2 separate regions of the Homo sapiens genome follow, and region 1 is linked to region 2. Evidence: promoter capture Hi-C in 16 types of primary human blood cells and fetal thymus (Javierre and others, 2016). All regions are on one chromosome and are shown on one strand. The core of a region is centred on a gene start or on the middle of the fragment in contact, and the rest is flanking DNA. Distances in the headings are between cores, read along the strand shown. Region 1 overlaps LINC02210-CRHR1 (LINC02210-CRHR1 readthrough). Region 2 holds the start of MAPT (microtubule associated protein tau).

What was found. The method cuts DNA at HindIII sites, captures the fragments that hold promoters and counts their contacts. A CHiCAGO score of 5 or more calls a contact.
Region 1: a contact is called between a fragment that was not itself captured here and the fragment with the promoter of MAPT in region 2, in 2 of 17 cell types (endothelial precursors and megakaryocytes). The highest score is 6.7, in endothelial precursors.

The regions. Positions count from the first base shown.
Region 1 is chr17:45,651,284-45,656,707 of GRCh38, forward strand. All of the region lies in intron 3 of LINC02210-CRHR1 (LINC02210-CRHR1 readthrough), which reads left to right. Among named protein-coding and RNA genes, the nearest start is that of LINC02210-CRHR1, 34 kb to the left of the region's middle. The HindIII fragment of the contact is 160 bases long and covers 2,710-2,869 here.
Region 2 is chr17:45,893,132-45,898,569 of GRCh38, forward strand. MAPT (microtubule associated protein tau) reads left to right here and starts at 1,423. Exons shown (of 13, transcript NM_001377265.1): 1 at 1,423-1,555. MAPT-AS1 (MAPT antisense RNA 1) reads right to left here and starts at 2,382. Exons shown (of 2, transcript NR_024559.1): 1 at 2,349-2,382. MAPT-IT1 (MAPT intronic transcript 1) reads left to right here and starts at 2,652. Exons shown (of 1, transcript NR_024560.1): 1 at 2,652-5,438. RefSeq lists enhancers at 1,366-2,251, 2,252-3,137, 4,024-4,908. The HindIII fragment of the contact is 3,093 bases long and covers 1-3,093 here.

The sequences.
Region 1 (5,424 bases), core at 1,540-4,039, 240 kb before region 2:
CCTGATGCCTTGGACATGCTTTTACTACCACACTGTCACACTGGGTGGTCATTATTTGTTTAGGTGTCTGTTCTCCTTACCCTAGACCTTGAGTTCTTGAGGCCAAGAACAGCCAAGTCTCAGCTTTCTCTGCAGGACCGAGCACATAGTGGCACTCCGCAAATGCGTGCTGAGGAATGGATTGTCATTACTGATGTCATCATCCACCCCTGCACAAGTCTTGACACGGAGCAGCCTCCCACCCCTGCTGGAAGCCTGGCTTAAAGTGACCAACCTGCTTTAGTGAAGGGTTGGGGTTTGGAAGGCCCGCTGGATACAAGGATCTAGAATGAGGAGGTCTTTTCCTATTGAGGACCAAAGCTCTCAACTCTTTTTTCCTAATAAACTAGGAGAGACCAGTTTGGAATTGTCTCTAAATGTACAGGATGAGTTTGAGTTTAGGGGTAGCGGAGCCTCTTGTTCCCAACTGAAGGCACTCACGAAACCTGAACTGCACCCACTTGGAGGAAAGTGAGACGGGGCTTCCCAGTGAGAACCCAGGGAGATGCGTCAAAGGCTACAGAGGGAACAAACAAACAAGCAATTTAGTTTAGATTTTTTAATGCAGAAATGAAGTGTTCCGCTTGTTTGCTTTTAAAATGGAGAACAGAGAACATAAAATGACTTCACAAATGAAGGAAGTAATTAGAAAAAATTCCTCCAGTTCTATGTGATGGCCAGTAAAGGAAGAGAGAGCACAGAAAAGATAGAACGGGAAGGGCAGATGGGAAGGAAGGAGAGTACGACACAGAGATGATGACGCAAAGAGAGAGAGTGAAGAAGAGATGAACATGGAACCATCCCTCCACACACACACATTTTGATCTTATGGAAAACCTGCTTTGTAAAATTAAAGTTTGTCTTTTGTTGTTTTTACACTGTAAGAGAGCGATTTGAATACATTTATTGTTTTCTGACTTCTAGAATAAGAAGTTGCCAGGGAGAAGTCCAATGCCATTCTTAGTCTTGATCTTTTTTTATAATCTTTTATTTTGCTCTGTGGAAAATTTTAAGTGTTTTTTTTTTTTTGAGATGGAGTCTCACTCTGTCACCCAGGCTGGAGTCCAGTGGTGCGATCTCTGCTGACTGCAACTTCCGCCTCTCAGGTTCAAGCAATTCTTGTGCCTCAGCCTCCCAAGTAGCTGGGATTACAGGCATGTGCCACCACGGCCAGCTAATTTTTGTATTTTTAACAGAGATGGGGTTTCACCATGTTGGCCAGGCTGGTTTTGAACTCCTGACCTCAAGTGTTCCGCTTGCCTTGGCCTCCCAAACTGCTAGGATTACAGGCGTAAGCCACTATGCCTGGCCTAAATTTTAAGATTTTACCTTCATATACATCACTATGAAATTAGCGTGGGCCTTTTTTCATTCATTGTATTGGGTGCACAATGGGCTCGTAAACTCTGCAGATGCAGGTCATTCAGTCCTAGGAAGTGATTTTGTATTATTTCTTTGATAATGGACTCTCCTCCATTTCTTCTACTCCCTATTCCTTTTGCTGGGCCTCCTAGATGGATCTTCTGCTTTTCTATTTTCTCTCTGATTTTCCATACCTTTATTTTTTTTCCTCTTCCAGGTAGATTTCCTTGACCTTATCTTCCAAATCTTCTACTGACTATTTTATTTATGGGATCAAATTTTCAGTACTTTGCACTGTTTTTCTGATTATTCTTTTTTTTAAAAAAAGTTTTATTGGAGGTACACTTTACATACTCTAAAATTCACTCATTTTAAGTGTCTAATTCAATGATTTTTAGTAAATTTACAGAGGTCTGTAACCATCACCACAATCCAGTTTAAATTATTCTTTTGTGTATAGTTGTTTGTTTTGGTATCATGGGTGAAATGTCTCCTCTTATCTTTGTGTGTGTGTGTGTGTGTGTGTGTGTATGTGTATGTGTGAGACGGAGTCTCACTCTGTTGCCCAGGCTGGAGTGCAGTGGCGCAACCTTGGCTCACTGCAACCTCCACCTCCCAGGTTCAAGCACTTCTCCTGCCTCAGCCTCCCAAGTAGCTAGGATTACAGGTGCCCGTGGCTACGCTCGACTAATTTTTTGTATTAGTAGAGATGAGGTTTCACCATGTTGGCCAGGCTGGTCTCGAACTCCTGACCTCAAGTGATCCACCCACCTCAGCCTCCCAAAGTGCTGGTATTATAGGCATGAGCCACTGTGCCCGGCCATCCTCCACCTGTTACAATGCAGCCAAAAGGCCCTCACTAAATGCTGTCCCCTAATTTCAGACTTCCCAGCCTCTGGAACTGTGAACCAAATAAACTTCTATTGTTTATAAATTACCCAACCCCTGGCATTCTGTTATAACAGCAAAAAATGGACCAAGACAAGGTGATATCTATCCTTGCAGATCCCTAAAAAAAGAGTTCCTGGGAGTTGATGGATCTTTAATACCTGCTTGAGGGACAAACCAGATACTCTTTTGAGAGCCCATCTAATTCTGGGATTCTACCCTCAAGTGGGTCGAGGGGCTCAGAGTTTGCAAAGCTAGAGAGCATCAGGACCAGGGACAGATCCAGGTTTTGTGAAACCTGAAGCTTATACAATTTTCGGTGCTTTGTATAAGAAAAATAATGCAAAATTATGGATGTCAAATTAGATACGGGGCCTAGGAAGGGGCTCGTAAACTCTGCAGTAGTGGGCCTTAAGCATAAGCTTATTAGCCTCCCAATAAAGCCTCCTCTGTCTAGGACAGAACCATATTCCTTTGGAGCCAGTAGATGTCAATGTGTTTTCCCCCAACAGACTTGGTCTTCCAGATTCTACATCTCCCTCATGATTTCCCCCACCCCCCAAATTTCTAACTCAGCAAAAGCTTATTGAATGCCCACTGTGTGCAAGGCATTGGGTTGGGCCACTTCATTACTTGCCTCTGTGGCAGGACTGAGATTATCACCCACCCAGGGAGAAGCACATCTGACTCAAGATGCCCCTGAGTCTGTGCAGGTACCATCAAGGCAGAGGAAGAGTAGGATGGGCACAGAAAACCAGATGGGAAGCAGGGCCACATCTGATCTAAGGACACAGGTGGTCTCCTGAGGACATCAGGCCCCTGTGCTCAGAGGAGAAATCCATGCTGCCCTCTGTCTCACTTCTAAAAGGAATTGTTGCCGCAGAAACTGCACAGAGACGTCAGAAACCTGAGTTGGAGTGGAAGGCTCAGCTGTCTTCCTGCTGCCCCTTTGTCAGACACATCACCCCTCTTGTGGGACTGGAGTCAAATGTCATCACTCAGAGTCAGCAGCCCTGCACTTGGTCTGGAGCCCCGCTGCCAGCCCTGTCCCCACAGTTGTCCCCGGCCCTGTCTGGGCCTTTTTGAGCTGATTGAACTACAGCATCTAGAAAACTCCAGGCCAATTCTAGGTTCTGTCTACAATCTCTGAGTGTTTTCTTTTCTCTTGGAATGTTTAACCAGCAGAAAAGCACACGCCAGCAGTGGTTTCTGAGGCCCTCTTCACCTTGCCAGATGACCAGGCCTTGCCAGGGACCCACTGGGTCTCTGTCATCTCCCCGAGCCTTTTTCCTCATCTGTAAAACTGAGACGAGAACCCCTATGAAGGGCTAGTTTTATGACTGTGGTCAAGGTCAACCTGGGTCTGGGTGTGGGAAGGGGTTACTGATATCTCACAGTCTATCTTCTGGTCTAGCTGCACAGGTGATAGCCACAGGTCCCCACCAGTTAGATGTAGTGTTGGAGATAATCAGGCAGGTCAGGGCCCTCGGATGCCCCAAATTTGCTTTATGGTTTATGACATTCTCCCTTGGTTTGTACTGACAATGCTGGCTGGGAAGGAATAAAAACAGCCAAACTTCTTAAGGTGATTTGCCAGAGAATTTTTATTTGGATACACACTGTACTGAACACAGACCTGAAAATGCATTTTAAAAGGCTTTCTAATGAAGCGAATACAAAACAACTCACACATTAGACAAACCTCTGTGGTATAGCCATACTGGGGAGAGCAGAGGCTTTCTCAGAGAAGGTGGGCCAAGGAAGAGGTGGGGGAGATGTGAGGATGGCCCAAGAAGGTTTAGGGAGGGATGGTTTGGGCTCCCCTCTGAAGTTCACTGTGACCCCTATGTCCACCCAGAGAGCTCAGTGCCCTATCTCTGTTATTTATACTAGTTGCTTCCCAAGCTTCCTGGGCTTTTCTCTAATTTGGGGTGCAATTTAGAGGCCCCACTGATGAACTTTAAAATCCATTGATATTGGGCCAGGTGTGGTAGCTCACACCTGTAACCTCAGCACTTTGGCAGGCAAAGGTGGGAGGATTGCTTGAGGCTAAGAGTTCAAGACCAGCCTGGGCAACATAGTGAGACCCCCATCTCTACAAAAATTTTTAAAATAAATTAGCCAGGCATAGTGGCCTGAGCCTGTAGTCCCAGCTACTTGAGAGGCTGAGGCAGGAGGATCGATTGAGCCCAGGAATTTGAGGCTACAGTGAGCCAAGATTATGCTACTGCACTCCAGCCTGGGCAACAGAGGGAGAACCTGTCTCAAGAAAAGAAAATCCGTTGATATTATATGCAAAACTTTATGGGTGTGAAAAAAATCTTACGTGGCCGGGTTTAGAATTCTTTTCTGGGAAGGGGGCCTGAGCTTTTACCTGCTCTCCAGTGGGTTCAGCACCCACCATGGAAACCATCATGGTAGACCATGCTAAGGCAGGAAAAGGTGGGCCAGCACATGATTCCAGCAGGGCCACTGCAAGAGTGGGGAATGCAGACCACCTCCAGTTTCGGGGTGGGCTGGGTACCCAAAGGAAGATGGAGACTCAAGCCCCAGGATGTCGTTTCCCTCACAAGGTCCATCCCCATGCTACCTGGACAGTAGTCAAGACCCTTCTACGGATGATCCCATTCAAAGCACCTGTTTGGCACCCCTGATGAACCTGGCACTTGTGGGGAACATGAGGAAGGTCAGACATGACCCTTGTCAGCCTGTATGGCGCTCCTAGTCTAGGGGGCTGGGGAAACAGGCACCCAGAGAAATTACAGGGTGCTGTGGAGTGTGCTACACATGAAGGTAAAATAACCGGGCAGCACGGAGGGAAAAGTTAGCTCAGCTCATTCGGGAAGCTGGAAGCCACCCATGGACCTTAGAGTGAAACACCAGCCACCCATGGGCCTTAGCATGAAACACCAGGCTGTGTGACTTCTGAGGACCTCAGTTTCCTTATTAGTACCATATGGCAGTAACTATTTATGGAGTTGGGAGAGTCACATGAAGTCATGTCCACACAGTGCATCCATGGATTGGACCTTCAAGCGGAATTTGCCTTGTGGAAAGATCTAGAAGGACACCAAAAGCAGCAAGGGCAACATGGATAGAGGCATGGCTCGGCAGGGCACTTTGTGCCGACTCAGC
Region 2 (5,438 bases), core at 173-2,672:
AGCTTGCCGTGAGCTACGATTGTGCCACTGCACTCCAGCCTGAGCAAGACCTTGTCTCCAAAAAAAGGTCAATTCCACTGACTTTTCTAAGGTGTACACCATCAAGGGGCAGCTCCATCTCCAGGCCATTGGCTCATGAGACATTCTGTAGTCAGAAGGCTAGGGCAGATTGCTTTGAGCAAGCCCCCATGGTGGTTCTCACTCCTACTTCTTTGGGTATATGCCCCTCTGTTTAAAAATAAAGTTAATATGCATTTAAAAAAAAAAAGGAGAAAAAGGTCAGTTCCAGAAACTGTGTGAATAAAGCATTTTACTTGCTTTTTCTATTAATCTATAACATATGTTGATTTTTTAAAAAGAATATAAGAGCTATGCAAATTGGAGCTTCAAGACAACTTCCCATCTCCCTAGGAGGAGATGGCTGCCCTAAACCCCCCTACATAGAAATCATCCCACTGCTTGGGCTTAAACTTGATGTTGGGGAAATGAAAAATCCAAGCTAAGGCCGAAGCCTGGGGCCTGGGCGACCAGCAGAATGAGGACCACTGGTCAGTTTCAGGCTGAGGTGCGTCTTCCAGGGGACAATCTCTAGCTGGCCCTTAAACATTCAGACTTCAAGCTCTATTTACAGCATAAAGGTGTTTCAAAAGACGTGATACAAATAACTGCAAATGCTCTGCGATGTGTTAAGCACTGTTTGAAATTCGTCTAATTTAAGATTTTTTTTTCTGACGTAACGGTTAGATTCACGTTTCTTTTTTTTTAAGTACAGTTCTACTGTATTGTAACTGAGTTAGCTTGCTTTAAGCCGATTTGTTAAGGAAAGGATTCACCTTGGTCAGTAACAAAAAAGGTGGGAAAAAAGCAAGGAGAAAGGAAGCAGCCTGGGGGAAAGAGACCTTAGCCAGGGGGGCGGTTTCGGGACTACGAAGGGTCGGGGCGGACGGACTCGAGGGCCGGCCACGTGGAAGGCCGCTCAGGACTTCTGTAGGAGAGGACACCGCCCCAGGCTGACTGAAAGTAAAGGGCAGCGGACCCAGCGGCGGAGCCACTGGCCTTGCCCCGACCCCGCATGGCCCGAAGGAGGACACCCACCCCCGCAACGACACAAAGACTCCAACTACAGGAGGTGGAGAAAGCGCGTGCGCCACGGAACGCGCGTGCGCGCTGCGGTCAGCGCCGCGGCCTGAGGCGTAGCGGGAGGGGGACCGCGAAAGGGCAGCGCCGAGAGGAACGAGCCGGGAGACGCCGGACGGCCGAGCGGCAGGGCGCTCGCGCGCGCCCACTAGTGGCCGGAGGAGAAGGCTCCCGCGGAGGCCGCGCTGCCCGCCCCCTCCCCTGGGGAGGCTCGCGTTCCCGCTGCTCGCGCCTGCGCCGCCCGCCGGCCTCAGGAACGCGCCCTCTTCGCCGGCGCGCGCCCTCGCAGTCACCGCCACCCACCAGCTCCGGCACCAACAGCAGCGCCGCTGCCACCGCCCACCTTCTGCCGCCGCCACCACAGCCACCTTCTCCTCCTCCGCTGTCCTCTCCCGTCCTCGCCTCTGTCGACTATCAGGTAAGCGCCGCGGCTCCGAAATCTGCCTCGCCGTCCGCCTCTGTGCACCCCTGCGCCGCCGCCCCTCGCCCTCCCTCTCCGCAGACTGGGGCTTCGTGCGCCGGGCATCGGTCGGGGCCACCGCAGGGCCCCTCCCTGCCTCCCCTGCTCGGGGGCTGGGGCCAGGGCGGCCTGGAAAGGGACCTGAGCAAGGGATGCACGCACGCGTGAGTGCGCGCGTGTGTGTGTGCTGGAGGGTCTTCACCACCAGATTCGCGCAGACCCCAGGTGGAGGCTGTGCCGGCAGGGTGGGGCGCGGCGGCGGTGACTTGGGGGAGGGGGCTGCCCTTCACTCTCGACTGCAGCCTTTTGCCGCAATGGGCGTGTGTGTGTGTGTGTGTGTGTGTGTGTGTGTGTGTGTGTGTGGAGGGGTCCGATAACGACCCCCGAAACCGAATCTGAAATCCGCTGTCCCTGCCGCTGTTCGCCATCAGCTCTAAGAAAGACGTGGATCGGGTTCTAGAAAAGATGACTCCCTGCACGCCCCTCCCTGCACCTCCCGAGCAGTGATTCCGACAGGGCCTTCACTGCCCCTGATTTTAGGCGGGGGCCGGCCCCCTCCCCTTTTCCTCCTTCAGAAACCCGTAGGGGACATTTGGGGGCTGGGAGAAATCGAGGAGATGGGGAGGGGTCCACGCGCTGTCACTTTAGTTGCCCTTCCCCCTGCGCACGCCTGGCACAGAGACGCGAGCAGCGCCGTGCCTGAGAACAGTGCGCGGATCCCACTGTGCACGCTCGCAAAGGCAGGGTTCACCTGGCCTGGCGATGTGGACGGACTCGGCGGCCGCTGGTCCCCGTTCGCGGGCACGCACAGCCGCAGCCACGCACGGATGGGCGCGGGGCTGCAGGTGCATCTCGGGGCGGATTTCTTTCTCAGCGCTCGGAGCGCAGGGCGCCCGGCGTGTGCGCTCCCTGCCGGAGGCGCGGGGCTGGCGCGCAGGGCTCGCCCCTCACTGCGGCAGTGGGTGTGGACCCTGGTGGGCGAGGAAGGGGGAGGATAGGCTGTGCCTCCTCCCACTCCCGCCCCCAGCCCCCCTTTTTTTCCCCCTCGGAACGCGAGGTGCCATCTTTTTTCGGCGTGTCACGTCTTTACGGTGCCATGCCAAACCGGGTGGCCGGGCTTCATAGGACAGGGCGGGGCCTGGCATTAAAGGGAGGGGGACAATCAGCGCTGAAATCTTGGCGTTTTGCTGCTGCGGGCGTGAGCACTGGGGGCGTTCGCCCAGCACCTTCTTCGGGGGCTCTTTGCTTTGTCTGTAGAGGTTACGTGATCTGCGCTCCCAGCCCTGGTTTCTGGCTTTTATTCTGAGGGTGTTCAGTCAACCTCCCCCCTACGCCCATGCGCCTCTCTTTCCTTTTTCGCTCCTCATTTCCGAGCCCATTGTTGGATCTCGAGGCTTGCTGGGTTCGATGAACTCGAGTCAACCCCCCGACCCCCGGCACGCATGGAACGGGCGTGACCGCGCGCAGCCTCGTCTCGGAGTCTGCCGGCGCCGGGAAGCTTCTGAAGGGATGGGATTCGAGTCTCCGTGCGCGCTGCGGGCGGCGGCAGAGGGATCTCGCCCCTCCCTACACCCCAAGTGTCCTGAGGGCCACGCCACACCAGGTTGCCCAGCGAGGGACGCTGGCTACCCATCCGGGGATGGGTGGGGAGCCCTGGCGGGGCCTCTCCGGCTTTACGCCCTGTTGCTTCGCCTGGCCGGAGAATGTGAGGAAGGGGCATAAGGTTACTGGTGCTTCGGCCACACCCATCTTTCTGAGCCCACTGGACTGGGCGCAGAGGGGGGATTGCCATGGAAACCACAGGTGTCCGGAGAGGGGATCTTGGGGCTGGCCTCACCCCTTCCCTGCGGAGATTGGGGACCCTGGGGTAGGGGGAGCCGCGCCCAGTCGGCCTCCTGGAGGACACGGGAGGAAGCCCCGAACCCCCGCGCCTGAGGCTGTTTCTGATTGGCCCCTGGAGGCCGCAGACACGCAGATAGGCGGCCCTGGGTGTATTTTTATTAATATTATGTCCGTACTGATTAATATTATTTATCTTAAATAAATTTCACCCGTGTCCAAGTTCACCGCGCCCCCAAAACCGAGTCTGGGGCGGCAGGGGGAACTCCTGGCCAACGAATCCATGCCTCGCCCTCCTGTGATGAACCTGGTACGCACGGTTTTCTGGTTAATTCTATCGCTGAAAACTGGTGCGGGGGGCGCACTTCTGAGACGGAAGAGCATCTAGGAGCTGAATCCTCCACGCGGGTCGCCCAGGTTGATCTGAATTTCTGGGGAATGGCTTGGCTGCCCGCCCGGGACCAGGCCGACCCTCCTTGACGGTGGCGTAGAGGGCTGGAGCCTGGGTACTGCGAGGCTCCTCGCATGGCTGGGCCCGCCGCGAGGGGTTGCAGAGCGGCTCAGGGATCGATTCAAGCATCGTCTCTCCTCCCTCGCCCCCAGACAGAGCTGGGCGCGGGGTTCCCCTTCCAGATGGAGCGAGGGTCTCGGGGTGGCCCCGGAAAAGGGGAGCCCGCGGCCACGGCTACGTATTGCCATCTCGCGAGCAGAGATGTCACCTCCTGCCTTTGGAGGAAAGGGAGCCCGGTGGGGATGAGCGCATTTAGCCCAATGCTGGGAACAAAGCGCACTCCGCGCTTCTGCGATTTCGCTCCATTTTGAAATGTGTTGGCGCTTTGGTGGGGCCGCTGCGGTGGGCAAGGCCGGGGGCGCTGTTAATGGAGGAACCTCAGGGGGACGGTCCTTCGTAGGAAACTCTATCCTGGCTCTGCGCGCGCTTTAAGGAAATGGCTTCCCTCCAGGACCTCGAGGGATGCAGCTTTTGCGCGGATGACGGTGGGGTGCTGAACCAGCCGGTGCGCCTCTGGAAATGTCTGGGCACGGATCCTGGGGCCATCGACGACTCCTCCCCATTCCCAGCAGGCGGGAGCTCTTACATTCCGAGCGAGTGACCCCTCTCACCCTCTGGCGCTCACACACCTGTAACTCCAAACCTCCGTCTCAGAATGGTCCAGGCTGGAAGGGATGATGGGGGCTCCGACAGCGACTGCCTAGCTCACCCCTCTGCGTGCTCAGGCTCCAGGCTCAGCAGGACCAATTTGAGTTCTATCTGATCCCCCTCGGCCCCTTAACTGACCCATCCTACAGGAGACAGGGAAATGTCTTTCCTACCGCGGTTGATTCTGGGGTGTCATTTTGTGTTTTGTGATGGCTGCTTATATTTACTGTATAAGCATTGTATTTACTGTATAAGCATTGTATTATAATTACTGTATAAGCTGCTTATATTTACTGTATAAGCATCTCCAAATCCTCCCTCTACGTAAACAAATTAATGGATAAACAGATAAGTGTATCCCCTGCCCCCACCCCTGCTACGCAGGTCCGGAGTGACTCTTGAAGCTCATACATTCCTTGGCCAAGTTTGCTTCTCTAACAGATGTTTATATAGCAATAACCTGGCTTGGCTCTTGGGTTCACCTTTGGACGATTTGGGGAAGGGGCTTGTTGGCTTTGCTGGGTTTTGGATGAGTGACAGTCCATGACTGTTCCTGCTGGAAGGGCGTGACTTTTAAGTGGTTTCTAATATCAGGCATTGCTCCTCCGACAGGAACAAAAGAAATGGATACTGCCCATAAATTGTTAGAAAACTTAGAATCGCTTTGATTGAGGAAAGGTTAGATTTATTCCGGTTGGAAAAAGTGGCCTTTCTATTAAACGTGCCCTTTGACCCTCATGCCCTTGGAGGTCGGTGCCAGCCTGGAGATGGGATAAGATTGTGGTTTTCCTTCTGCCTTTTTAACATCTGTTGTTACAGTCCATTTGTTGAAAATTTAAAGAA